Regions from separate parts of the Homo sapiens genome. Here all the other regions are linked to region 1. The links are contacts of gene promoters, found by promoter capture Hi-C in blood cells and fetal thymus (Javierre and others, 2016). All regions are on one chromosome and are shown on one strand. Each heading gives the region's core, a stretch centred on a gene start or on the middle of the fragment in contact. The rest is flanking DNA. Distances are from core to core; before and after follow the strand shown. Region 1 holds the start of ZNHIT6 (zinc finger HIT-type containing 6). Region 2 overlaps DDAH1 (dimethylarginine dimethylaminohydrolase 1). Region 3 has its middle 9.2 kb from the start of BCL10. Region 4 has its middle 26 kb from the start of BCL10. Region 5 overlaps C1orf52 (chromosome 1 open reading frame 52).

The links. The method cuts DNA at HindIII sites, captures the fragments that hold promoters and counts their contacts. A CHiCAGO score of 5 or more calls a contact.
Region 2: a contact is called between a fragment that was not itself captured here and the fragment with the promoter of ZNHIT6 in region 1, in 1 of 17 cell types (naive B cells). The highest score is 5.1, in naive B cells.
Region 3: a contact is called between a fragment that was not itself captured here and the fragment with the promoter of ZNHIT6 in region 1, in 1 of 17 cell types (total B cells). The highest score is 5.5, in total B cells.
Region 4: a fragment that was not itself captured here is called in contact with the fragment with the promoter of ZNHIT6 in region 1 in 3 of 17 cell types (total B cells, endothelial precursors and naive B cells); the score reaches 9.3 in total B cells.
Region 5: a contact is called between a fragment that was not itself captured here and the fragment with the promoter of ZNHIT6 in region 1, in 1 of 17 cell types (endothelial precursors). The highest score is 5.8, in endothelial precursors.

What each region holds. Positions count from the first base shown.
Region 1 is chr1:85,707,183-85,713,058 of GRCh38, forward strand. ZNHIT6 (zinc finger HIT-type containing 6) reads right to left here and starts at 1,251. Exons shown (of 10, transcript NM_017953.4): 1 at 447-1,251. The coding sequence starts at 1,102. RefSeq lists enhancers at 508-1,341, 1,044-1,403, 1,342-2,174. The HindIII fragment of the contact is 1,595 bases long and covers 23-1,617 here.
Region 2 is chr1:85,327,568-85,333,581 of GRCh38, forward strand. All of the region lies in intron 4 of DDAH1 (dimethylarginine dimethylaminohydrolase 1), which reads right to left. Among named protein-coding and RNA genes, the nearest start is that of BCL10, 54 kb to the left of the region's middle. RefSeq lists enhancers at 528-697, 1,173-1,751. The HindIII fragment of the contact is 531 bases long and covers 1,378-1,908 here.
Region 3 is chr1:85,283,085-85,288,634 of GRCh38, forward strand. No RefSeq gene overlaps it. Among named protein-coding and RNA genes, the nearest start is that of BCL10, 9.2 kb to the left of the region's middle. The HindIII fragment of the contact is 4,829 bases long and covers 1,886-5,550 here.
Region 4 is chr1:85,299,746-85,305,220 of GRCh38, forward strand. No RefSeq gene overlaps it. Among named protein-coding and RNA genes, the nearest start is that of BCL10, 26 kb to the left of the region's middle. The HindIII fragment of the contact is 3,059 bases long and covers 2,403-5,461 here.
Region 5 is chr1:85,249,461-85,255,394 of GRCh38, forward strand. C1orf52 (chromosome 1 open reading frame 52) reads right to left here. Exons shown (of 3, transcript NM_198077.4): 3 at 493-3,242. The coding sequence ends at 3,169. Among named protein-coding and RNA genes, the nearest start is that of C1orf52, 7.2 kb to the right of the region's middle. The HindIII fragment of the contact is 2,205 bases long and covers 3,563-5,767 here.

The DNA.
Region 1 (5,876 bases), core at 1-2,500:
ATATTCACAGCACCCATGAAGAAGCTTGATAATTGAGGTCAAGTGTATTTTTGCCTAGTTTTAACTTAATCTACTTTGTCATTGTTAGTTTTATTAGACTTTCTCATCTCTATTCTCTCTCAAAGGAATACCGAGTAAAGAGCATATTAAGTCAAGCCAGATCCAGTTCCAACTGATCTTTTGGTCCCCAGAATTTCCACTTTCCTAACTTGACCATTACCCATTGGACACTACTAATTTCATGTATTTTCACTGAATTTGTTGTGTTGTCATGTACAACACCCTCCACTTCCCAACCCACCCCCGCGAACGCCGTCTGACTCCAGAAACCCAAACTTGTGCTCATTTTTCATTATTCCACCTTCTCCTGATAGTGTGGTTTCCTTCACTCTAGACATGAGGACTCCACAGCTTTATTCCCCTAAATGGAATCCCCCATGCCCTACCTTGACATGGCCAGTTTCCGCTTGCAGCCCACCGGGTGATTTATCGGAGGCTCTTCTTTCACCTTTGTATCATCCACGATTTCTTTCTTCAGGAAATCCTTCTCTTCTTTTACACACTCTCCATGCATCAATTCCTCTTTTATGCATTGACCAACAAACTTCTCCTCCTGTTTTATCTCCAAGTTATCCTTCTCTTCCTTCACTTCTGACCAGTCCATTACCTCTTCCTTTACCTTCTCTTCCTTTACCTCTGGTTCACCCACCTTCGCTTCTTTTACCACTAAACTACTATCCGTCTCCTGCTTCACCTCCAATACGCCTGCGTTCTCATCCTTCACCTCAGGCCTATCCTCCACCTCCTGTTCTACCCACTGGCCAGCCAACCTGCCTTCTGTACCTGGCCAGTCTATAATTTCCTGCTTCACTACCGTTAGGTCCATCGGTATTTCCTCTGGCCTTTGTCCACTTCCTTCCTCTCCATCCCCTATCTCCTTTATCCCTGTCAGCCCTGTCCCCTCCTCTCCGCCGCCGAACTCCTCCGCCCCTGCTAAGTCCCTTACTCCCTCCCTGCCAGGCTCTGGACTTAGCCGCACCCCCTCAGCTACGCTGTGGAGACCTCCCCCAGACTTCCCTTCATTTTCAGCAGCAAACTCCATCAACTCACGATCCTTGGCCTCTGCTGCCACTCTATCCTTCAATGTGGCTGCTGCACACCAATAGGAGGAATTACCGGTCGGAATACCTACGGCGGCCCACGTGTGGAGCCAAGCAGCCACAAACCCGGAATAGCCTGCTTGACGCGACTGCTCGAATCGCCGTAAAGCTACGCTTTTGCGCCTCGCCCCTTCACGACTTGTAGAGCTCTTTACGGCTCTGCGGAGGCCCTGCCGGATTCTCTGGGCGAACAAGCGTAACTGCGTGACTTGCCCGCTGGGGTTCTCGTCTCCTTCCTGGTTTCCACCACCCTCTTCCCTTAGAGAAGCCTCCTGGGCCACTCCCTGGGCCACCCTCCACGCCCTGCTGGGTGTAAAGAGTGTAGGAGACCGGCAGAGGGAGAGAAGCGAAACCCTTACACTCTGGAAGTGGGAAAACCCACCCTAATCTGTGTTAACCATTAAATCCAATCTTGCATGAAAATGGAGGACACACCTGATGTTATTAGGCCTTTCCAAGCTTTAGTTTCTTAAAGCTATAAACTAGGGACCATGGTATTATTAATATAAATCTCCCAGTGTCATTGCAAAGATTATATGAGATCATGCATGGAAATCAACTAGCAGTGACGGACACAAACTCGATATATAACTGGGAATCCTGATGGGCTTCAAACCGCCTGGTTTCCACCACCCCCTTCCCTTAGGGAAGCCTCCTGGGCCACACCCTAGGCCACCCTCCACGCCCTACTGGGTGTAAACAGTGGAGGAGACCGGCAGAGGGAGAGAAGCGAAACCCTTACACTCTGGAAATGGGAAAACCCACCCTTATCTGTGTTAACCATTAAATCCAATCTTGTATGAAAAAGGACACACCTGATGTTACACCTTTGCAAGCTTTAGTTTCTTGAAGCTATAAACTAGGGAGCATGGTATTATTAATATAAATCTCCCAGTGTCATTGCGAAGATAATATGAGATCATGCATAGGAATCAACTGTCAGTGACAGACACAAACTCAGTGTATAACTGGGAATCATGATGGGTTTCAAGTAGGAAAGAGGGCATTAATTTTTCTTTCCATTCTTTCTAAGTAACAGCCTGCGTCAGGCTATTCCCCATTCCCAGCATTCTGCAGGATTCTCTCAGAGAACATCATAAATATATTAGGCGAAAGTGCCTAATGCCCGGTATTGCTGAATAACATTGCATTGTATGAATGTGGCACGTTTTTTCATGCATGTACCAGTTGGTGGGCATTTGGCTTGTTTCCAGTTTGGGCTATTACGAATAATTCTGCTTCCACATTCATATGCAAGTCTTTGTGTGGACATGTTTACATTTCCCGTTAAGTAAATAACTAGGAGTGGAATTGCTGGGCCATATAAATTTATGTTAATTTTTAAAGAAATGCCCAAACTGTTTTCCAAAGTAGCTATACCATTTTACATTCCTACTGGCTGAGGGTTCCTATTTCTCTACATCCCGGCCAATTCTTAGTATTATCAGTTATTTGATTATAGATGTGTAGGGGTACGTCATTGAGAATTTACATTTCTTTAATGACTAATGATGTTGAACATCTTTTCATCTGCCAACTGGCCATTTGGATATTTTCTTTAATGAAATGTTTATTCAGATCTTTTGCCCATTTTTAATTGACGTCTTTTATTATCAAATTGTAGTAGTTCTTCATATATTATGGATATAGGTTTGTGGTAGACAAGCACCAGTATGTTCCCCAGTGATTCTCCACCCCCACAGTGTTCAGACCAATGTGTAGACTGCTCCTGCATCATCCCAGGATTGGTCTGTGTCACTGATAGCATACAGCAGAAGTAATACGTTACCTCTAAGATTAGGTTTGGAGAAAGGCTGTGGTTTCTGCCTTAGGCTCTTGCTTTTTTGGTCTCCTTCCTAGATCATTCACTCTGGGGGAAGCAAGCTGCCAGGTTGTGAGTACCAAGAGGCCCATGTGGTAGTGGGCCGAAGTTACTGGCTCTTACAGGCTGAATTGTGTCCCCTCAAATTCGTGTGTTAAATCCGTAACACCCAGTACCTTAGACTGTGAGTATATTTGGAGATAGGACCTTTAAAGGTGATTTCGTTAAAATGAGACCATTAAGGTCGGCCCTAATCCAATCTGACTGATATCTTTATAAGAAGAGGAAATTTGGACACAAAAAGAGACACGAGGGATGCCTGCAGAGAGAAAAGACTATACGATGATACAGTGAGGTGGCCACCTGCATGCCAGCGAGAGAGGCCTCAGAAAAAAACAAGACTGGTGACAACTTATTTTGGAGTTCTAGCGTCTAGAACTGTGAGAAAATAAATTTAAGTCACTCAGTCTATGCTAGTTCATTATAGTGGCCTTGGCAAACGAATGCACTGGCCAACAATCAGCAAGGAATTTCAGCCTGTCAATAGCATATGAATGTGTTTGGAGGAAGATTCTCTAGTCTTAGTCCAGCTTTACATGACTGCGGCTCTGGCCAACAACTGAACCCAGATTCCGGACACTCAGAAATTGTGGGAGGGGATAAATGTTTCTTGTTTTAAACTGCCAAATTTCTGGATAATTGATACAAAGCAATGCATAATTAATACCAATTCCTTGTATGGTTCGCAAATATTTTCTCCCAGTTTGTGGCTTTTCCTTTTCTTAGTTGTATCTTTAAAAGAGCAAAAATTTTACACTTCAATTAAATCCAGTTTATCAATTTTTATTTTTATTTTTTGTGATGGAGTCTCGCTCTTGTCACCCAGGCTGGAGTGCAATGGCGGGATCTCTGCTCACTGCAACCTCCGCCTTCTGGGTTCAAGTGATTCTCCTGCCTCAGCCTCCCGAGTAGCTGGGACTACAGGCAGGTGCCACCACACCTGACTAATTATTTTTGTATTTTTATTAGAGATGGAGTTTCACCATGTTGGCCAGGCTGGTCTCGAACTCCTGACCTCAGGTAATCCACCCACCTCCCAAAGTGCTGGGATTACAGGAGTGAGCCACTGCACCCAGCCTCTCAATTTTTAAATGAATGGTGCTTTTTGTGTCACACTAATAACTTTTTGCCTAGCCCAAGGTTGCAAAGAGATATTTCTCCTATATTTTCTAGAAGTTTTATAGTTTTAGCTTTTACATTTAGGTCTGTGATCCATTTTGAGTTGGCTTTTGTATCTAGAGTCATCCCTCTGTTTCTGTGGGGATTGGTTCCAGGACCACCACAGATCTGAGAACGCTCAAGTCCTACAATCTGCCATCTGCATCCATGGTTCCACATCTGTAGGTTCCACCAGCTGTGGAAATTTGATCCATGGTTGGTGGAACCCACATGTGGCAGAACTAAGGATATCATCCATAAGGTGGACAAGGTAATGGTTTAAGTTTCTTTTTTTTAATATGGATATCTTATTGTCCAAGCACCAGTTGTTGAAGCCTATTCTTTTTCCTTGAATTGCCTTGATATTTAAAAAAATCAATTGACCACAAAGATAAAGATTTATTTCTGGACCTTATATTCTGTTTTACTGATCTATATGTCTATCCTTACACAAATACCATACTCTATTATAACTTTATAGTAAGTCCAACTTTCTTTTCTTTTGAAAATTGTGTTGGCTATTCTTGGTTGTTTGCATCTCTGTGTATTTAGTGCCAGCTTGTCAATTTCTACAAAAGAACTTGTGGGATTTTCATAGGGATTGTGTGGAATATATAGATAAGTGAGGGGAGGATTGTCATCTTAACAACATTGTGTCTTATCCATGAAAACGGAATGCCATCCATTTATTTATATTGTCTTTAACTTCACTTAACAATGCTTTGTAGTTTTCAGTGTACAAGTTTTTACATATCTTTTGCTAAATTTATTCCTAAGCATTTTATTCTTGATGTGGTTTTTGTTTTTTTTTAAATTGACACAGGGTCTCCCTCTGTCACCCAGGCTGGAGTACAGTGGCAAAATCATGGCTCACTGCAGCCTCGACCTCCTGAGTTGAAGCTATTCTCCCACCTCAACCTCCCAAGTAGCTGGGACCACAGGCGCATGCCACCATGCCCAGCTAAATTTTTTTTGGTATTTTTTGTAGAGATGGGGTTTTGCCATGTTGCCCAGGATGGTCTCAAACTCCTGGGCTCAAGGGATCCGCCCACCTCAGCTTCTCAAAGTGCTGAAATTACAGGCGTGAGCCACCACACCTGGCCTTGATGTGATTTTGAATGAAATTACTCATTTAATTTCATTTTGGATTTTTCATTGCTAGGTTGCAGAAATACAATTGATTTTTGTATTTTGATTTCATATCCTGCAACCTTAATAAACTCAAATGTTTTATAATATCTCTATATAATTGTATTCAATTAACTTACATTTTGTTTAGGAGTTTTCGTCTATGAAGGATGTTTATTTATCTGTAGTTCTTTTTTCTTGTAATGTTAGGTTTTGTTATCAGAGTTTTCTGCATACCTTTTAACTTTTATGTTTCCCATCTCTTTATTGCTTCCAGATACTTTCTGGGAGAGTTCCCCAAGTAATTTCTACCTTACTATTTTGGTATTTGATGGTATGCAATCTGTTAGTCAACCTATCCACTAAGCTCATTTCAGTCACTATGTTTTTCATAACCATTGTCTGTAGCTTATTTTGCTTCATATTTCTAATATCCCTTTTTATCTCTCTGAAGGTAGTCCTTTAACTCGTTTTATTTATTTATTTTTTTGAGATGGAGTCTCGCTCTGGTTGTCCAGTCTGGAGGGCAATGGTGCTATCTTGGCTCA
Region 2 (6,014 bases), core at 393-2,892, 380 kb before region 1:
CCTTGAATGCAGGTCCAGGCATAATGAGGTGGACAGAGCATGGGCTTCAGAGTCAGAAAGGTCTGGGTCTGAAGCCTTGCTCAGCCACACACTAATTGTGTGACTTTGGGAAAGTCACATATGCCCTGTGAGCCTCAATTCCCTCAGCAGTAAAATGGGATGGGAATGCTATACCTATCCTCCACAGGGTAACTCTGAAGATTATTTAAAAAAAACCCCAAAACAGATAATGTACATAAAATGCTTAGCACAAGCTTCTAGCAGATATTAAATGTGTAATAAAAGTCGGTTCACTTCCCTCTTTGTTTCTTGCAAGTCACTTGACATATAGCAGGTGACCAAAATATGTTTGCACTAACTGGTTCATTTCTTCATTCCTTTCACCTTTTTAAACGCTACAGAGAACCTCAGGAGGGCACTGTGATGAACTGTGTGGTCAATCACATGGGTAAACAATTGAATTCCCTCAGAGAAACAAGGTATGGTCTATGTCCAGAAACAGAAATACAACTCATTATTTTTAATGTGAAAAAACATGGCTAAAATCAACAAGGCCAAGGTTTGTCTGTTTTTCAAAGCCATACAGAAGGGCACTATACTCTGTGGTCCTAACTCAAATGACTCTGGATGACAAAGTAAGACAACAGGGGGTTGGATCTGGAATTACCTGCAGAGTATGTGGCACCTAAGGGCATTCACAGAAAGAAAGAAAAGAAAAACTTTTGTGTATATCAAACCGAACACATAAGCCTCTGTCAGGTTGTGACCCCAATTTAGTAAAATAGTCCATAAACCCAATGGGCAGATTGACTTCTTCATAGTAGAGTGGGGCTGCCTCGATATGCAAGGTGGCAGTTAGGATTTGTGAAACTTCTAGACAATAGCTTTTGGTCAGTCTCACAAACGTGCTTTTTTCCAGGTGCAGGGAATGGGATTCCACTATGTCTAAATCTCTGTTTATTATGTGCTGTTGAGGGTGGACCAAGATGGCCAGTCTGCTCATGTTTGCAGTCAGAACTGGACGGTCATCCTGTCACATGAATTGGACCTAGTTTACCCAAGAAGTTCAGAATTTCTTCCAGACAACTGGGGAGGCAGTTCTCTGAGCCAGAGGTTTACTAAGTAGGACCCCAGTGGTTTGAGGACCTCAGAGAGATCCTTAGAACATGTATACACAACCACTGCTACCTGGTCAACCTAGACACAAACAAAACAAAATCTAGAAAATCTATTACTCACATTGACTTACTTTTCTAAGCAATTGGGAAAACTGTGTGTGGCATATTTTGGCCCACACATTCAGGCTAAGTGCTCCCACCACTCATAATCACCAGATAACTGCCAGTTGGCTTTCCATTTTAATTTGTGATCTGCAGAAGCTTCATTGTACTCTTTACCCACAGATAAATAAATCACCCATGTCTCTTAGTACCAGATGAATTGAAAGAGAAAGAAACATGGCAAGACTACATCTCTTAGGCCTGACTTTATTCACTGGATCTAGCGGTCTGGGCAAATTCCCCACCTCTCAGTGTGACTCATGCATGTCCGGAGGTGACTACAAAGCAAAAGCATGGAATGTCATACATTCCAGAGGAAGTGTTCTCAGGGATTGTTATCAGTGCTGACTTCTTGTTTACCAGTGAGGAAACAAACTAAAATCTCCAAGGTTGTGCCCATCTCAGAAAGTACCACGTGTCACTGAAGTGACAGGGCCTGTCCAGTTGACTTCAGCTGTTTCCATGCTCTGCCCTATCCCCCAACCTCACCTCCTTGAGTGAACAATCCTCTCCCCTACTTGGTTCCTATTTGAATTGTTCTTCAGTTACTGGCATGTATTTGAAATTGTAATCACTCTTCATTCTTTAATGCTTCTTCCTTTTCTGAGCCTTATTTTTTATCATTTAAAGCTTCTGGTGGGGACATTCCTATACTTACTAACATAAAGGCCAGTACCTACTTTAGAATTATTTGAGGACAGTTTCAATTTTTCATTACTGGGAGGAAAGGAATTATAATATCTTTAGTGGGGAAATAATTTAATGCTGAGAATATATGAAGTAATTCATTGATAAATTCTACTGAGAGTTACTCTTAAAATAAATGTCTTAACAAAACCCCAACAAAGCTACCTTAGGAGAAGCTTTTCAATTAATTTATCAAGACTCCACGGTTATCATTTTAAGACAGATTTAAGAATATGCCCAAAGAAATGACTTTTAATAATGAACAGGCCCCATTTGGAGCAGTGAGTAGTTCTGCTTAACTGAAAAAAATTACAAAAGTTATGTCAGGTGTAGCCTTTCTAAATAAAAGGGATGTATGAAGTGGTAACTGTAGATAACAAACAAGAAATATGCTTTTCCCCCTTGAAAATGCTAAAGGTGCTTATTATAAACACAAAGAGATTTTGTCTTTCGAGGCAAAGAACAGATTTCTCCTTTCCTGTTGGAGTAATTATTTTCCTTTCTCTTGTATGTTGTTATTGTCTGAATAAGCTTACCATTTATTTGTAGCTGGGTTTAGGAGACACATGTATGTACACAAGACAGGGTGCTGGCCATTCAGCAGGGAACATGCAGAGAAAGATGCAGGAAGGCTGTGTTGCTCTTGAACATCTTTCCCTTTTTACACCCTAATGGGCACTGTGAGGATGTGTTAACACATCCTGTCTGGTAGGGTATCACCTCAAAGAGCTCAGGCTCCTGAGGACTGAGCAACAGTGAGGCCAAGGAACAGGTTCTGTTTCCCCTTTGTGGATGCACAGAGGCTTTGTTAAAAGATGAGCACCATTTCAAATATCCCGAGAATGCAGCTGTTGGGCCGTTTAGTTCTGTTCCAACATTTTTTCCTAAAAAAGCATGGAGGAGGTGGTACTGCTCCAGTGCTGTATGTAGTGTTTTTCCAACCCCAGGGACTGTACTTCCTGCTTCTCACTGTGTCTCAAGCCAGAATGGAAAGGAGACACACCTAAACCCTCCACACGTCACCACAAATTCCTTTCCCTAAGAGCAGATTACTTGATATCCTGAGAGGCCCCAGACTCAACTCTGAATGATACAAATGAGTTCTACAGGATTTGGGGGAAAGATCTGAGAAGTCAAGTTGCTGTTCCGAATGCCCTTTCTGAATTTTGCCAAAGGAATGATTCCACTTTATGGAAACTAATTTGAGTGATTATTATGGGGATTAGATCAATTGGTGGTCAGCTCTGTTCAACAATCTTTTATGGTACGCCCCCTTCGGGCTCAGCACAATGGCAGTGTGAGGTGGGAAAGGGAAAGAGATGCCTTCAGGAGATGAAAAGCTATCATTTAAGGCAGGACAAGCACATGAAGAGTATGCTAGCAGTAAAAAGACAGTCAACCTCACTTTTATCATAGGCAACTCCTTAACGAAGAAGGCACGCAGCTGTAGGGAGGAAATAGCTCTGAGAATCATTGTGGCCACACTGTCATGGTCTGTTATGCAGCTGCTGGTTGGAGGAATTGGCCTTGTTCCCCAGGGTGGAGCTGTCACAAAATAGAGTGGGAACTGTCTGGCTTTCAGCCCAAGAGAATCTGCATGGCAAGTTGCATTAACAACCAGGCATTTCCGGCAGTTCCCAACATTTCTGGGAATTTTCTCATCCAAACGACTGAAAGCCCACTCCATTCTCTTGCTTCTTACTCATGCTTTCTTTGTATAATGGTAATTATGTTTTAAAAAATCCTGGGCTATGTTGTTTCATGGAACAATTTAGAACTTATTGGTCAAACTCTGAAGCAAAGGTATATAAAAGGTAGTTAGAGATGTTTAGGGAATATTCAAAGCACATTTTTGGGTCACTCATAATTGATCTTTATATTCATATATGTATATATATATATATAACATAATGTACCCATCTTAACATATCAAAGCTAAACCAGTATTAAAAACAACTGACTATGGTCTATTGATACAATATATGATGCCCAAGTACACTCTTCATTGCTACTGCATATCTAAAATCATTTATTTATTTATCCATCCATCAAGAGTGTATTGAGAGCCTGACAACATACCAGCATCAAGCCCTGGAGGTCTTTTTAAGGCTGAGCCAATATAGCTATGGATAACATTCTAAAACTGATAGCATATTTTCATGTTTTATAGTCTTTCCACAGACTAGTTCAAAATGAACACTGCCTGAGAGGGGCTTTAAGATGACTGACTAGAGGTACTGGACACCTGTTTCCCCAGCAAAGAAGAGCCAAAATAGCAAGTAGATAATCATACTTTGAATAGACATCTAAGAGAGAATGCTGGAATTCAGCAGAGAAGTGACAGAAAACACCTGAGATACTGAAGGAGAGGGAGGCAAGGTAGACAGCCTGGCTGGAATCAGCTGGGAGCCCAGAGAGGGTCCCTAGTGAGAGGAAAGGGTAAGTGAGAGATTCCCAGTGGTACATGTTCCCATGTTGACTGCTGAAATCCTAGTCATAAGAGTCTCTCAAACCCCAAGGACCCTGAAACTGGTATTCCCGGGGTCCGTGTGGCAGCATTGCTCCAGAGATGGAGCCCACTCGGGTCCCATGTACCCACTTAGTTCTGGACAGATAGAGAGCCAGTTAGAAAGCCCATTTCCCACCAGACTGCATTGTGCCCTGGGACCCAGCAACCCCTGTATCTTCACATCCCTGGAGCCCCACTAACAGAGGGCTGCAGGGTGCAATGCAGGTTGGACACAGTAGAGTGGCAGGGTCTCCAGAACTCTAGCCCACACATTGTACTGCACACTGGGGAGGGTGATCCTGGGACAAAGGGAGCTGAAGCATGTGTTTCCCAGAGCATGAAACCTGATTTCCTGGGGCCACTGTCAATGAAATAAAACCCTGTTCCCACAGTAGAAGGGCTGCTTCACACTAGCATGTGTCCTGAGGTCAGGCTGCCACCATTGTCATAGCCACCTGAGCAAACCGTCTGGGGCTTGGAAATTGCTCTGCCTTGTTCACCACAGCCTGGGCCCATGGGCCCCATGGGGGGCCTGAGAATAGGCCTGCCTGGCCTGGCACCACCCCTGTCCTCCATCAGTGCCCAAGCACATTGCCTGGGGGCCTAGGGATTGCCCCTCCCCATTGGTTGACCCAGGTGCATATGCATGCCATCAGGGGGCCTAACAGGACCAGAAAACCTACTGCTGAAACCCAAGCATGCTGTCTGGAGGCTGGGGGATTGCCTCACCTTGTCTACAACAGCTGGCATCTGGGCAATACTCCTGGAACTTGAGAATAGGCCTGCCCAGCCTGCCACCACCACCACTGCTGGCAATCTTCTGCATGCACTACCTGGAGGATTGGGGACTGGGCTGCCCAGCCCATTGCAGCCACCGCTAATATCAGTGAGTGCCCATGGGGAGCCTGAGGACTCATCCAGTCATCTGGCACACTGCTGCCATAACCAGCACCCAAGAAAGCTGCCTGGAGGCCCCAAAATCAGCCCTCTGGACTTGCTAACACTGGCGCCCACATATGCCACCCCGGGACCCAAGAACAGGCATGCTTGGTCTGCCGCTGCCAACAGCAGGGCCTGAGGACTGGCCCACCTGGCGTCCTATCCCCAGGAAAACCTCAGCATAATCTCTACTAACAACGGCAGCCTACGCCACTGAGGAAATCACAGACACCACTGATGGTGTATAGCCAAAGAAATCCTATGGAGACTGCACCACCATATATGCCCAGAATAAAAGAAAAGTACCCTAACCAACCAACACCATAGATCTATCTACAGGAAAATGTCTTCCCCTATGAAAACCAATCTAAAAAATTGGAGGAAGTGACTGTTACACCAGATGCACAGATATCAATGAAAGGACACAGAAATACAAAAAAGCAAGGAAATATGACACTTCCAAAGGAACATAATAATTCTCCAGAGACAGATTCCAATAAAAACTAAATTTATGAAGTGCCTGAAAAAGAATTCAAAATAACAACATTAAGGAAGTTCCATGATATAGAAGAGAACACAGATAAACAATAAAAAGAAAT
Region 3 (5,550 bases), core at 3,050-5,549, 420 kb before region 1:
GCCTCCCGAGTAGCTGGGACTACAGGCGCCCGCCACCGCGCCCGGCTAATTTTTTGTATTTTTTTAGTAGAGACGGGGTTTCACCTTGTTAGCCAGGATGGTCTCGATCTCCTGACCTCATGATCCACCCGCCTCGGCCTCCCAAAGTGCTGGGATTACAGGCGTGAGCCACCGCGCCCGGCCAGGCCAGTGTTCTTAATTACTAGCTGTAGACTGAGCTAAGTGCTTCAGGACATAATGATTCAGAGAAGCTAGGATGCTTGAGCATTCTCTGAATCATTATATCCTGAGCCTCACAAATGATGTATCTGCTCCAGCTTAGGATCCATGAAGGGCACTGTGCAACAATGAGAGTAGCTGAAGACTGGCAATGTTAACTAATGCAAGTCTCAGAAAGAGGAAGATGATATTTGCAAACTCCAGGTGGGGTTCGATGGCAAGCATAATTCCAGAAAATAACTTTTTTTTTTTGAGACAGGGTCTTGCTCTGTTGCCCAGGCTGGAGTTCAGTGTTGCAATCTTGGTGATGGCGTGGGTGGCCCTTCTGGAGTGGCTGCTATCATGACACTGGCTGCAGTGGGGGAGGCGTGGCCAGGGCTGCGAGCTCTACAGGGCTGGGAGGAGCCGGGAACTGTGGAAGCCCTGCCCACTTCCAAGTTGGCAGGGCGGGAGCCTTGTGCTCCCTGGGTGCAGCTGCAGCTGCCCAGGCACAGCTCCAGACCTGGACATCCCTGTGCTCTTGGGGGCCAGAATCAGGCAGGAGCCCTGCCCTCTCAGGCACAGCTGCAGCCATCCAGCCATGGCTGTGGACCCGGGCATCTCTTGGGGGCCAGGGAAGCCTCCCTGCCCCTGCAGGCTCAGAAGTACCTGCTCCTGTTGCCTGGTCTCTCCCCACTCCCGGTGCCGACTCTGATTTTGGAGCAAAGTTGAGGCCAAGCCCAGGCCCTCTTGCAACCCAGCCAGGTGTATGCATGCTCAGAGCAGCACTGACATGCCAGACCCCTGCCGCCTTGGCTCCCCTCCAGGCTTTGGGCACTGACGAGCACAGGAGGGAGGCTGAGGGAGCACTGAGGGTGGCTCAGCATGGGCCTGCAGGAGCCCCTCAACACAAATAGCTTGGGCAGTGGCAGGAGGCAGACAAGCTCCTGGGCAGAAAGGGGCAGGTCCCTGGTGAAGCCTCACCTTCAAGCCAGGGATGGCCTAAAGCCTGGTGGTGGGGCTGATGGGCCAGAATGGGAACTTATGGTGCTATTTTCAGGCCCACCCATTGCCACCCGTGAACCAATCAGCATGTACTTCCTCCCCTCTGAAGCCCATAAAAACCCCTGGACTCAGCCAGACTCCGATGACCAGATGACCTGCCTTTGGAGAGGAGCTACCTGCTCCAGGATCTCCTCTCTGCTGAGAGCTGGGCATAAGTTGGGACTACCAGCTGCAGAGAGGAGCTGCCCACTCTAGGGTCTCCTCTGCTGAGAGCTGAACACTGTTGGGACAACCTGCCTGTGGAGAGGAGCTGCCTACTCTAGGGTCTCCTCTGCTGAGAGCTGAACACTATTGGGACAACCTGCCTGTGGAGAGGAGCTACCCACTGTGGTTTCCTCTAAGCTGTTCTGTCACTCAATCAAACTCCTCTTTGACTTGCTCACCCTCCACTTGTCTGCGTACCTCATTCTTCCTAGACACAGGACAAGAACTTGGGATGCGCTGAATGCCTGGGCTAAAAGAGCTATAACACAAATGGGTCTGAAATACACCCCTTGCTTACCACGTTGTGGGCAACAAGAAGGAGAGAGAGCTGCAGCCCTTCTGGGAGCCCAGACCTAGGAGCTCCCCAAGCCAGGGCTGTAACACCCTCTCTGGGGCTCTGTGGTTCCCGGCATCTCCAAGCTTCCAAGTTCCACTGCGTTCCTCAGTGCCAGCCATGGAAGCTGCTTGTGGTCCACCTGGTCCAGCCACAGCCTCACAGGGAGCTGGCGCCTGTGCTGGTGCTTGGAACTGCCTGCCCCACCACAGCCAGTGTGCCTGGCTGTGCTCAGTGGCCGGGCACCATGCTTGCTCACTCACACACCCCTTGCTGCTCTGTGCCTGGCTCTCCCTTGGCAGGCATGAGATTCAGGCCAGTAGTGCAAGCTGAGCACAGCCTGCCAGGCTGATTGGGTGGAACAAGCCCAGCGGGCCTAAGTAAAAACTCAGGGAAAAGCGCCACTGGCCACACAGGTTTCCGGCTGGTGAAGTGACACCCACAGGATCCCATGACATCAGCTCACTGCAGCCTCAACCTCCTGGACTCAAGTGATCCTCCCACCTCAGCCTCCCAAGGTGCTGGGACTACAGGCATGCACCACCATGCCCAGCTAATTTTTGTATTTTTTTGTAGAGATGGGGTTTCACCATATTGCCCAGGCTAGTCTTGAACTCCTGGGCTCAAGTGATCCACCTGCCTTGGTCCCCCAAAATGCTGGGATTACAGGCATGAGCCACTGTGCCCAGCCTCAGAAAAGAATATTAAAGGAGTAGCTCTTGAAAGCCTAGAGTGGGAACATCTAGGCTTTCAAGAGCTACTCCTTTAATATTCTTTGAGGGTGACATCCCTCAAAATCAATCATTTCCCTTCCCATTCCCATGACTGGAGTCAGTGGTTCTCAGTCTAGGCTATTTAATAGAATCACTTGGGAATGGACATCCAAGTCCCACCTAGATCAATTTAAAAAATTCTTTGGAAAAATCCAAAGTGAAGGGAGGAGGATGTGTGCCTGCTAGCTATAAGTACTGAGCTGTTACTTCCACCATCGTCTCTATTGCTTTCCAAAGCCCAGCCCTCTCACTGGGGAGAAGCCATGGTTTTAGTGTATGTGCCAGAGAATTTCCTCCATTTAAAGGAGGTATTTGCTGCTAAGGGGACACTGTATATAGAAAGACCAAGAATGGAATATGAATAAGAAGAGGTGCCTTCACTCTCAAAGATCACAGAAGCAAACAGAGCTATGTCTTGGAAATATGAAGGAAAGGCCTGTATTCCAGACTAGCCCCAAGGGTGTGGGGTCAGAGAAAATTTCTTCAAGCAGTTCTGGAGGCTGAAAGTCCAAGATCAAAGCACCGGCATTTGGTGTCTGGTGAGGGCTGCGCTCTGCTTCCAAGATGATGCCTTATTGCTGCATTCTTCAGAGAGGAGAAATGCTAAGTTTTCATATGGTGGAAGGTAGAAAAAGAGCAAGAGGAATGAATTCGTTACATGAAGCCATTTTATAAAAGCACTAATTCTATTCCTAAGGGAGGGGCCCTCATGGCCTAATCACTTTTTAAAAGCCCCACCTCTTAATACTGTCATATTGGCAACACCTGAATTTTGAAGATACCCATTCAAACCATAACACTTGTTTTATATATATTTAAATTGTTCTTTAATAAAATATTTTACCTAACAAAAATTCTGTGGAAGCCAAAGCAGTGGTAGTTATTATCTTTGTGATAACAGTTTTATTGAGATATAATATACATACCATACAATTTAAGTATACGTTTATACATATACAATTTAAAGTATACAATTCAGTGGTTTTAAGTATATTCACAGAGTTCTACAACCATCACCACAATCAATTTCAGAATATTTCATCACTCCAAAAAGATAGTTGTATCTGTAGCCACCACCCCTAATCCTCTCATCTTTCTTATCCCTAGACAACCATTAGTCTACTTTCTATTGCTATAGATTTGCCATACTGAACATTTAATATAAATGGAATGATAACAATATATGGCCTTTTGTGTCTGGCTTCTTTCACTTAACAATGTTTTCAAGGTTCATCCATGCTGTAGCACAAATCAGTACTTCATTTCTTTTTATGGCTGAATAATATTCCATTGTATAAATATGTCACATTTTGTTTATGCAATCATCAATTGAGAGAGATTTGGATTAATTCCACATATTTTTGGCCATTATGAATAATGCTATTCATATGGCTATATGGCTGTTATGAATAATATTATAAAAATTCATTTGCAAATTGGGACATCTAGTTCCTCCCCCAGTATTCGCCAGCTGGTATATAGGGATGTGGCCTTCAGACATTTGAACTTGGGTCTTCATTTCTCTTGGGTATATACCTAGGAGTGAAATGACTGGGTCGCGTGGTAACGATATTTAATTTCTCGAGGAGCAGTGGTAGTTTTAAAACTTCCCAGTTGATTCTAATGCAGATCCAGGGCTGAAAAGCAGTGATCTCAACGAATGGTGAAACTCAGAAACGCACACTCTTGACAGCTTCAGGGAGACATTTACAGGGTCCTTCTTAAGCCTTGGGGGTCCATGTGGAACAATGAGATTGGTTCGCAACTGGCTTTCCTGCCATACCCAAGACACAGTGATTGCCATCAGTATGCAGGGAAATGTATCTTAATGCTCTGCTCTCACCTCTATTTGATTCAACATTTATAATAATGACTTGTGGGATGAATATCTGGAACAGGGGTTTTCAAATGTTTTTCTAACTGTGCAACCCTTTCTTCCAATAAAATTCTCTGTGGAAACTAAACTCAAGGCTCTGTCTACCGGGTCTGTAGAAGTTTTCTGTCTTGCCCACCCACCCTGCCCCACTACTTCTGAGTCCTTCCTCAAAGCACCAAGGGCTTTATAGAGCATTGTTTGAAAGCCACTTATCCAGAAAGTATTTTTATTAATTTGTGGATAACCCCAAACTGAAAATATAAAATGATTTTTAAAAAATTAATTTTATTTTATTTTAAGTTCCAGGATACATGTGCCAGATGTGTAGGTTTGTCACATAGGTAGACATGTGCCATGGTGGTTTGCTGCACCTATTGACCTATCACCTAGGTTATAAAAAAATTTTAATGTCAGAGTCAATATAAGGTAAACAAAACAAAACAAAACAAAACCTAAACTTCTCTAGAGTGAGCTGCATTGGGAAGTAATGTTTTCTTTCCTGCAAGGTATTCAAGCAAGCACAACCCAAACTATATATGTGTGTGTGTGTGTGTGTGTGTGTGTGTGTGTTTTGTGGTGAGGGAGTCATAGAAGGTAATTAAAAAATGAGAAGGTGGCTGGGCATGGTGGCTCATGCCTGTAATCCCAGTGCTTTGGGAGGCCAAGGCAGGAGAATCACCTGAGGCCAGGAGTTTGAGACCAGCCTGGGCAACATAATGAGACCCTGTCTGCACCTGTAGTCCTAGCTACTTGGGAGGCTGAAGCAGGAAGGTTCCTTGAGCCCAGGAGTTAAAGGCTACCGTGATTATGATTGCGCCACTGCACTCCTGCCTGGGTGACAGGGCAAGACTCTGTCTCTTAAAAAACCCCTCAAAAGCCAGAAGGTGATGTGATTGGTCTAGTGATTTTTATTTTTCTTTGAGACGAGGTCTCACTCCATCACCCAGGCTGGAGTGCAGTGGTGTGAATAAGGCTCACTGCAGCCTTGACCTCCTGGGCTCCAGTGATTCTCCTGCCTTAGCCTCCCATGTAGCTGGGACCACAGGTGCACACCACCATGCCCAGGTAATTTTTTTGATTTTTTGTAGAGATGGGGGTCT
Region 4 (5,475 bases), core at 2,682-5,181, 400 kb before region 1:
TGCTACCGAGTGAGGCAACAATTCTGCCACTCAGCAAAGTCACATTGTCCAGGTCTCGTGTCCAGGTTTTGGGTCCTAAATGTCTTGCTGTGCCAGGACTGGGGCCTTTTCTAGGGTTTTCTGGGGCAGGCATGACCACAGCGGAAGAAAAGTTCTATTTCTTGAGCACCCCCAATGTACCACACCTGCACAGAATAGGAGCATGCATGTTATCCTCTGCAGTTCTCTTCATGACCCGTGTGGTAGGTCTATGGTAGCCTCATTTTATAAATAAAGAATTTGAGCCTCAAAGAGGCTAACTTTCCTACCCAATCCAACTCTGGGGTCAAATGACCTCTGAAATCTCTAGAAGGAACAGGACAAACATTAAGATGAATTAAAGGAGTTGGTGGATGGTCGCAGTGGCTCATGCCTGCCATCCCAGCAATTTGGGAGGTTGAGGTGAGAGGATTCCTTGAGGCCAGGAGTTCAAGACCAGCCTGGGCAATGTAGGAGGATACTGTCTATACAGAAAAAAAATTCACTGGGTGTGGTGGCATGTGCCTGTAGTCTCAGCTACTCCGAAGGCTGAGGTGGGAAGATCACTTGAGCCCAGGAGATTGAGACTGCAGGGAGCTGTAATCACACCACTGCACTCTAGCCTGGGTGACACAGCAAGACCTTATCTCTCTATAAAAAAAGAAAAAGGTAAAAAAAGAAAGGAGTTAGCAGCAAGAAAGGTGAATACTTACTGAAGACAAGGATGAAAGAGTGCCCCTGAGAAAAAGCCACCAAAAGGGGAGTGTCATCCGGGCTGGGAACCCAAAGCAAGCAATCACCCAGATCCTGAGAATGGGATCATTTTTTGCTTTTGTTGTAGTATGGGAAGTGTCCAGTTTTCACAGAATGCAGAATAAAATTACACTCATATATGAGTGTGGTATTTTCTGAGGCAGATTAGCTGAGATAAATCACTTTTTAATTTATCTAAACCTCTACTTTTTACCTTGGGAATTAAAAAAATACACAGAACTAGAAAAATATAACGGAACCCCATGTGCCAATTATTTGCCTCAATAGTGATCAGCATTTGCCACTCTCTCATCATGTGTCTCTCCACATATTTTTTCCCTGGATTATTTTAAACAAATCCCTGTTATCATATCACTTTTACTGTAAATACTTCACTATATATTTCTATGAGAAAAAGATATTTTTAATATAATCATAATGCCATGATCACACTAACGCAAATAACAATAATTTCTTAGTATCATTCAATATCCTATCTATATTAAAATTTGCTATACATGTCTTTTTATAATTGGTTTATTTGAACCAAGATCCAGACAAGGCTTGTACATTGCATTTATGGTTATGTCTCATGTGGAACTTTCCACCTATACCCATTGAATATTTATTGGGCATTGCTAAAACCATTGACCTCAAGACAATCTGGGGTCAAGGGGCTGTGACCTACTCAAGCTAACCAGAATACTACACTGGAGAATCAGACACCTGCAGAGGTTAAGAAGGATGATCAATAGAAAATAATGGATTGTTAAAAATCTAAATATTGCACCCAAACTACTTACTAACTACAAATGGAAAGATAGTTATGTTTACAGTGGAGAACTCAGCAGACACCAGCTTAACCAAGTGATGAATGTAAACATCTCCAGTAATGACACATCAACATTATGAACACTTTGATGTGATGAGAAGAACACAATATCAGTTTTGTGATATTCTTGCCAAAAATGCATAACATGATTCCAATCATAAGAAAACATTCTACAAAATGAAGAGACAATCTACAAAAGAATTGACCAGTACTCTTCGAGGGTGTCAAGTTCATGAAAGACTGAGGAACTGTTCCAGACTGGAGTGGATGAGAAGACATGACAACTAAATGTAATGTGGGGTCCTGGTTAGGATTCTGGAACAGAAAAAGGACATTAGCAGAAAAAGTGGTGGAATTCAAATAAGGCCTGTGGTGTAGTCAATAATACTGTATCAATGTTAGTTTCTCGTTCTTGATCATTATCCTATGGTCATGTAAGATGTTTTCATTAGTGGAACGTGATGAGGGATATATATAACTCTTTGTACTATTTTTGCAACTCTTCTGCAAGTCTCAGACAAGTTCAAAATAAAATTTTTTTACAAAAGCCTGACATGTTCTTTTAATATGCATCCTGGTTTTTGCAAATATAAGGTCAACCACAAATAAGCAGCTCCTCCAGCAAGAACTAAATCTGTATTTTCTTTAAACAACCAGTGAGGGTTTTAGTTCATCTTTCCTCATTGCTGGCTGTCCTGAGGGATGGATCATGATCACTTTCTCCTGATACCACGCATGGCCCCACATCACGCTCGTGGTCACCGTCATCATTGTCATACACACTGGTTTTCTGATAAAAAGCTTTCAGACACAGTTCCCTAATAGGCAGGGTTTCCTAGGTATTTTACTTCCCATTCCTACCCCTTCTATCACTCCTCTCCCAACCCCCAGGCACAGGGCTGGTTCCCCTGCCTTCCAGTCTTTCCCTTTCCTGGGTCCTCAGGTCACTCACTGCCCAGTTCCAATCTGCCCAAGGTCAAGGAGGGTTTGGGAGACAGCAGCCACTGCACTCCAAATGGCAGTGGGTAGTATGAGCACCTGTGTCCAGGCTCCAACAAGGAAAGCCTTCTGATCTGATCTCTGCATCCACTTTCCAGCCAGCAGCATGTGCAGGGGTTTGCAGCAGCCTGGACTCTGAATTGTGCCACCTCAGAGTAAGGGCAGCCCCACTCATCCTTCAGCAGATGGGAAGGAGGGGAGTGGAGGCCTAAGGAGCAAGGTTGGTTTGTAGCTGAGGACAATTCTGGCAGGGGGAAATCCATTTTCATTCCAACCCTGGATTGTGGTATTACTGTGTCTCTGCTTCCATCTTCAAGTAGCTCCTAGCTGTTGCATCCTGGCTGTGCTCCCCATGGCCTACCCACTCTTTGAGGGGGAGGCTAGGAGGTATGCAGAGGCTGTGATTGTGAGAAAAGCCTGGGACAGTACATGAGCTCATTCCGGATGGGGAGAGAGACTATAATCTTTTCTCAATAAAGTTTTGTTGCATGAATGAATGAGTGGTGAAAGAAGGCAGTTCCATTTAGTCAGTCTTCCTAAATCAGTTTTTCCAAATCCATGGGCTTTTTGACGTACTCAAACTCCCCGTTTGCTACAGTTTGGGAAGTGGCCCGGGGATGCCGAGAGAGAGAGAGAGAGAGAGAGAGAGAGAGAGAGAGAGAAAGAGAGGTCTGTTTTTTAAAGAGCCTTTGCAGTCCCTGGGTTTTCAGAGGGATGTTCCATGAAGAAACTGGCCAAGCAGGGCCAACACTTGTCTTTCCTTTAGAGTGTCTAACTCTTGGTGTTTGCTGCCAGAACTGTTGTTGTTTTGAAGACCTCAAAATGTACAATTCTTATTATTCATTCAGTCAATATTCAAATCAATATTTATTGAGCTCCTTCTGTGTGCCAGGCCATGTGATGGTGAGCAAGCCAGGATACAACGGTGAGAAAGCTGGGTCTTGTTTTTCCCAGGAATGAGCTGTCCCACGGTTGCACACTGGATCTTTGGCCAGATCAAGCTCAGGCCAGTCCTCTGCATTGGCCTGAACTTGATCCCAGCAATCTGGGGATGAGAGAGGGTCTCTCTGCCCTTTCTCATGGGAGTGGCTCACCTCCCCTTGCACCTCAGCCCAGAAATTGCATCTGAGCCTCAGAATTTTATGTTTTTTTCCCCTGAAACCCTGAAAACCAGTCCCATGTCCTCTCAGAGAAGCCCTCAAGATTTCTCTGGATTTGGTAACATGCTGACTGGGATTCTAGCCAGAGGATTCTCATTCTTGGACCTGGATTTTAGACTCATTTTGGACAATTGGCAAATGGGCACGTGTTATGCTGCTTTAATGCAAAGAGCAAACAATATCGATGTTTATAAAATCCTAAAGGAAAAACTCCAAGATATGTGAGCATCCCAGGGTGAGGGGAACTGGGAAGCCTGGTTCCTTGTGGTTTCGCCAACCCCATGGGATTGCCTTTGTCTTCCTGGCTGAAGCTGCTTTACCAGGACCAGGTCTGGGTTTCTGCATATTGGGAGATAGGAAATGAGAGGAAGGGCATGTGGCTTCTGTTTTAAGGATGTGTCCTATAAACTGTTCATGTCATTTCCGTTCACATCTCATTGGCTAGAACTTACTCCTGTGACTATAAATTAGCTTTAAGGGAGGCTGGGAAATGTAGTCTTCAGCTGAGTGGCCAAGTGCATGGTAAAATTTCAAGAACCTATTACTAAAAGGAAGAAGGGGAGAGTGGATATAGCTGGACAATGACCAATTTTGATCACACACTCCTTTAGCCCCTTTTCACATGGCCCAGACTGTTGTGTCCTTACATTATTGGCCTTCAGACCTCATACCTCATTCCCATGTTCCCTGACCTGGTGGCTCTCTCTGGAGTCCTAGACCTGGGCTACTTTGGATTGTTCCTTTTTTTCCCTCTCCCTCTAACTCCTTGTAAGTAACTTGCTTAGGGAGGGGCCCTTCTGAGGGGAGGGGGTGTCACCAAAAGAGAAATAAGATGTTGACAGCCAAGGCCAGGGACATCAAGGCCAGACCCACTTACTCTATAGATCTCTGCAGGCCCCCTCTTTACTTCAGCTGAGTGTGGATGAATAAAACCAAGCATGGTGACGCTGCTGAGACACTTCAGGTCTCATGGTCAGGAGGGACAGCATCTGTGGATGAGCACTTGAGGGAGGGTCTAAGTATACGCTGGCATCTCTGCCCACCAGGAACCATGATTTCATCTTCCTCATCTTTTTCCTCTTCCTGCTTCACTTCCTCACCTGCAGCCTCTCCAACATCACTGTAATCATTACAACTGTTAGAACTGTACCATTGAGCACCACCAGGGCCAGATATCCCACATGCATCTTCTGTTTTTAGCCCCGACTCCAATCCCAGGAGGTAGGTATTATTGTCTCTATCTTTTGAGAAACTGAAGCACAGAATGGTAAGGACCTACTTCATACTGTTGTTGTAAGGATTAAATGGGATAATTCACATAAAAACATCTGGCTCAGTGCCTGGCAAACAGAAAGTACTCAATAACTATATTAGCCTTTATTGCTGTAACAGAGAAGAAAACCAAGGTTTAGAGAGGAATGGAGATTTGTCAGTGTTGGCTCCAGAATTCACATAGAGGAGGGGTTTATCGTGGTGACGGGGTGGTGGGGGCACTGCTCAGGGAATTGCCTTGATGCTGTGTTTGCATGAAAAGCACACATATTAACTTAGATTGTGATAAAAAATACCAAAAAATTCTCATATGGTTATATTTATACTTTACATAAGTGTGAGAACTGTCCATCACGATAATGATTATTATCATCACTTGGGACAGCTTGGGAACTCATGGAGGTCACAGCTGTTTAACATCCCTCCAAGCTTCCCTTTGGT
Region 5 (5,934 bases), core at 3,415-5,914, 450 kb before region 1:
TGCTTCCCTTATAAAACTGAATGCCTTTAATGGCATCCAAGTAACCTCTTGAATGCTTTGCTGCTTAAAAATTTCTTCCACCAAATACCCTAAATTATCTCTCTCAAGTTCAAAGTTCCACAAATCTCTAGGACAGGGGCAAAATGCCACTAGTCTCTTTGCTAAAACATATCAAGAGTGACCTTTGCTCTAGTTCCCAACAAGTTCCTCATCTCCATCTGAGACCACCTCAGCCTGGATTTCATTGTTCATATCATTATCAGCATTTTGGTCAAAGCCATTCAACAAGCCTCTAGGGAGTTCCAAACTGTCCCATATTTTCCTGTCTTCTTCTGAGCCCTCCAAACATTCCAAGCTCTGCCTTGTACTCAGTTCCAAAGTCACTTCCACGTTTTTGGGTATCTTTTCAGCAGTACCCCACTCTACTGGTACAAATTAACTGTATTAGTCCATTTTCATGCTGCTGATAAAGACATACCAGAGACTGGGCAATTTGCAAGAAACAGGTTTAATTGGACTTACAGTTCCACATGGCTGAGGAAGCCTCACAATCATGGCAGAAGGCAAGAGGAGCAAGACACATCTTATGTGGAGGGCAGCAGGCAGAGAGCTTGTGCAGGGCAACTCCCTGCACTGATGGTTTTTAAAACCATCAGATCTCGTAAGACTCATTCACTATCATAAGAACAGCACCGGAAAGACCCACCCCCATAATTCAGTCACCACCCATGACACGTGGGAATTGTGGGAATTACAATTCAAGTGAGATTTGGTTGGGGACACAGCCAAACCAGATCAGGATCTCAACATGTTGCCCAGGCTTAACTTAAAGTGCAGGAAACAATCAGAAGTATCAAGTGACTCGATTCTCTAAAATGAAAGATACTTGGACAGATGATTTTTCTTATGTATATGGATTTTTAAGACTTTTCCCCACTAGGTTTCCACTAGCTCAACCAAACTTCACCTCAGTACCCACATGGACACTTGTGCAAACACGTTCCCAGGACATCTCTAAAGGGGAAAATAATCTATTCTCTAATGTGATGATGAATGTAGAGTGATATGACAGTCCGTTTTCCAACCAGGAGATACAAATGGCTGAGTCAGACTTGCTCCAAAATATTTAGCCTCTTCCCTAAGTCCTGTCTTCCTCCTCATACAACATACTCTGCACATCTCCCAGGAAAGAGAGAAAAAAGTTTGCTTTCATGCTAACTTAAGAACCTTGCAATATTTCAGTAACTTCTGAGATATTTGCTCCACCAACACATGCATCCAAATTTTAGATTTCTCCAGAGCTTGGGAATCACAACTTCACAAATATAACTTGATTTGGTTGTGTTTGGTGTCATGTACATACTATGGTCTTGCTTTGTCACTTGATGCCACTCCTTAGTATATGATACCACAGATTTCCAAATTCATTACAAAGACTACAATCTTAAAAAAACATATTCTTGCTTTAGCAATTACTTCAATTTTGGGATTCATATATTTGCAAACCTGGAGGATGGGCAGCTATAGAATTGGTTTTTCTAAACTCGATGATATACTGGAAGCCATCATGCTGTTATGGACCTTCATTCCACAAAGCACCATGGCTGATGCAATCACTCTTAATGACTTTTATGAATTTTAATCTACTTGATACACATGCCTAGGTAAACAAATCTCGCGTAATTGTTCAAATTTTATCTTCCACAATGGGGAAAAACAGATTTAAAAAAAAATACTTAGATTATGTCTTTTTCTTTCTAAATTATTTTTTGTAAAGATGAGGTCTTATCATGTTGTCTAGGCTGGTCTCCAACTCTTGGCCTCAAGCTATCCTCCCACCTTGGCCTCCCAAAGTGCTGGGATTACAAGCATAAGCCACCATGCTTGGCTGTCTTGTTCTTATACACTGAATGTGCACTGTTCTGTAATTCTTATCTCTTAAGGGCTTCAGATTCATGGAAAGATTGATGCAGAGTGTAACCTTTTTATTGTTCAAAATGCTACAAATAACTGCATTTTGGAACTCAACGATCACACCTTCCCAACTACTTCTTGTTCATTTTATTATTACTATACGCAAAGCATTAAAATAGAAGCTGGGTAGAGAAAACATGTAGAAGTAGGGTTACCAGATAAAAGATGTTCAGTTAAATTTGAATTTCAGATAAACACATTTTTTGTATATGTCCTGAATATTAAATATACTAAAACATTATTTATCTGAAATTCAAATTTAACTGAATGTCCTGTAAACTTACAATTTAATAAAGAAATTAATGAATAACCATAAAGCACAGATGACAAGTACAGTCATCCAATCAGGAGAGGAAAAGATCTCTACTAACGGATCTCCAGGTACAACAGAAAAAAGTACCTGGAAGAGATGACAATTGATGTCATTCCTGAAAGATGACTAAATTTTGACTGGTGGACAGGTGGTTTAATGTGATGATTTTGAGGTTCAAGTGTCCCAAGTTAAATTCCAAATGAACCACTCACTAGCTGTGTAACATCAGACAAGCTACTCAAGCACTCTTTATTATAAAATGAGAATACTAATAATACCTTGCGCTAGGTTGTTTAAGGATCAGAGAAAATATATGCACAAAGCACCTGGAACACAGGAGGCACTCTTTAAATGGTAATACTTCTTATTACAACTTAAAATGTCACACGACAAATAGGGTACTTGTCACAGACAAACATTCAAATGTTAATGTTATACAGTAATAGTAATATTGAATAAGTAATTTTATTTCCATGATCTATTTACACTGTACAAAGACTGTTGAAAAGCACCCTACAAGTTCACAGTACATTACAATATATTTACTTTAAAAATATATTCCTTTATAAAAGGTTTATAAGAACATTGGCATGTCAACATGTGACAAAACTCTCAAAGCATGTCACCAATTCTGTGAGAGCAAGAATGCATCCAAGTGTTATCAATTTCACAATCACAAGTCACCAGTTGAGTTTTAAATACATACATGTTTTAAATAAAAAAAGAATTCTATAGTGGAAAGTTCTTGAGGCAATACTTATTAGTTCATTAACGTATGCATTTTCATGGAGATGTGGCATAATAACCCACAATATCAACTTAATCTGTCCAAAGAAACATTTCAACAAGTTTAGCAGTACAGAAATTCTGGTCATTTGTTTCTACTTTTTCTTCTTTGCTGGTTCTCCTGGCTCTACTTTGCGCTTTTTAGAAGTATGCTCATCTTTTTCATCATCTTTAAATAGAAAAGGAAGAGTTTCAATCAGTAATTTTAAAAAACCCAACATGTTAAGCATTAAAATTTCACTGGCTTTATACCAAAATTATTACCCTCATCAATTAATGTTTCTCTCAGAGTTTCCCAATAAAAAACAAGAATTAACTTTTAGAGCTCTGATTTTTAAATGCAAGTGAAAGTGAGCAATTTTTTTTTTCAATTGCAGCCATACAAAATTCACAAAGTAACTCTTTAGGTGCTATACTAAGGTAGCTTAAAATAAGTGACTTTACTTCCCCCAAATCAGACTTTTGAAAAAGGCTCCCAAATACTCAGCAAGCTTGTCCAACCTGCCTTATTTGTTGTTGTTGTTCTGTTTTGTTTTAGGCTTTTAGCAGCCTGAAGCCATGGTTTTTAGTTTCTGTCTCTAGTGATAAGCAGAAAAGAAGGATGATGAAGGGGCTTTATTGGCCCAACCAATAACAGAAACTAAGAACTCATGACTGTATTCTCTCCCTTGGACACCACTGCATGATAGTATTTACATTGTATATATTAAAATACAATCAATGCTTTGTAAGAATGGAGCATATTGTTTTCTTTTTACAAAAAATAGGTATCACTCTAACGATGACATTATTTAAGTGGCTATCAGCTGTCCTTTTCCTTTCAATCTGCTTTCTCTCCTCCAAAAACAACTTCTTCTGCCCCATCACCTTCTCCACCCACCCCAAATCCTTATTTTGAGGTTAAAAAGCACTCACAAGTAGGTTTCCCCAAACCTCTATTTGGAATTTTATTCTAGTAAGTTCTAATTCCCATCCCCGCCCTCCCCATCCCCACTCCCACGATGGCCAGAACATTTTAATGGCAACAGAAAAATACATATCTTCCTACTTCATATTATGGAGAATTTGGAGAGGGGAGGGAGGTTAGAGAAGAGCCTTACATTAAAACAATGTTCTTTACACCTTTCCAAAATGTTAATAGTATCTGTAGCCACAGAAAATTTCCAATTCATAAAAATGTTGTCAAACCTGGAAAAGTGAACTCTTTTATTGTATTTTAAAAAATCCAACTACATGGTTAAAAAAAAAATACAGGGTAGCACAGACTAGTTGCTAATTCCATCTCCCTAAGCAAATGTGTGGTATTAAGAACTCCATATAGACAGAGTAACATGGAAAAGATGTTATGATTTATAAAATACAAATTTATTTTGAGCACATTACTAATTAATTGTAGCTTTTGACTTTATTTTCTTGATCAACAGATACTCAAAAAGTTCAACAGGTTATCATGTGGAGATCTATAAAATATCTTGATATTGAAAGGAGCCTTCATTATTAAAAAATGTGAGGAACTACTGACATCAAATCATAAATTCCTTGAAGGAAATATTAAAATCTTAAGCCTTCAATTCCCTTCTGCTGACTGTACCATAATCAGAATATCTCATTTATTGATGCAGATAACAATCAATACCATTCATCTTCACTCCCCTTCAAGCACAGCACGGTGATGTTATTCATATGCTTCACAGAGCACTATGGATTTATGTAGGCAGTGGAATAAAATACAATTCAGATCAACTCACCCCAGGAATTTACAAATCAAAGTTTTAATCAGTAGTTCATCATGTTCATACAAAAACACTGGCTCCACAAACCAAATAACATGGTATACCACCAAAACAAGCCAAACGTTTTGCTTTTTTTTTTTTTTGAGATGGAGTCTTGCTCTGTTGCCCAGGATGGAGTGCAGTGGCACCATCTCAGCTCATTGTAATCTCCACCTCCCAGGTTCACGCCATTCTCCTGCCTCAGCCTCCCAAGCAGCTGGGACTACAGGTGCCTGCCATCACACCCAGCTAATTTTTTGTATTTTTAGTAGAGACGGGGTTTCACGGTGTTAACCAGGATGGTCTCTATCTCCTGACCTCGTGATCCACCCACCTCGGCCTCCCAAAGTGCTGGGATTACAGGCGTGAGCCACCGCACCCGGCACCTTTTGCTTTTTAACGAGTTAATTATCACTAAGCTCCTCTTTTGAGATTTTCAGTAGTGATAATATAAAAATGGAAAGTACTAAGTTTACTATAATATTCACTATGCATTAGCATACATTTAGATGATACTGAGATATTTTTGCTTTTAATTTGCCACTTATTACAAGTAAATTAACTGAATAACAAAACCACAAACTACTGAAGTTAAAAAGTAACTGGCTATCAGTGATTTGAGCAGAAGTGCTATGCCATCTAGTGTCATGACAAGGCATTGCTTTATAAACTAGAGTAGGAAAAAATCTGAGCAATGTTCATTTATCAATTTTACTGAGCTTTTTTACTCGGTCTCATATAGTATAGATGTACTGGTAAGGAAACAATTTTTTTATTATGGAACTCAAATCACTCAAGTAAGTTTAACTTATCAATAGACAAACTTTCTAAATTCTAAAAAGTGTAAACTAAAAATCACTATATTAATTATGCTTTTACAATTAATTATTATACATGTCAATAAAGCTACAACTAATAACTAAGCTTTGCTTACCTACATTTTACAACCACTAAAACCAGAAGTGGCAGGGTGCGGTGGCTCACACCTGTAATCCCAGCACTTTGGGAGGCTGAAGCGGGCGGATCACGAGGTCAGGAGATCGAGACCACCCTGGCCAACATGCTGAAACCCCATCTCCACTAAAAATA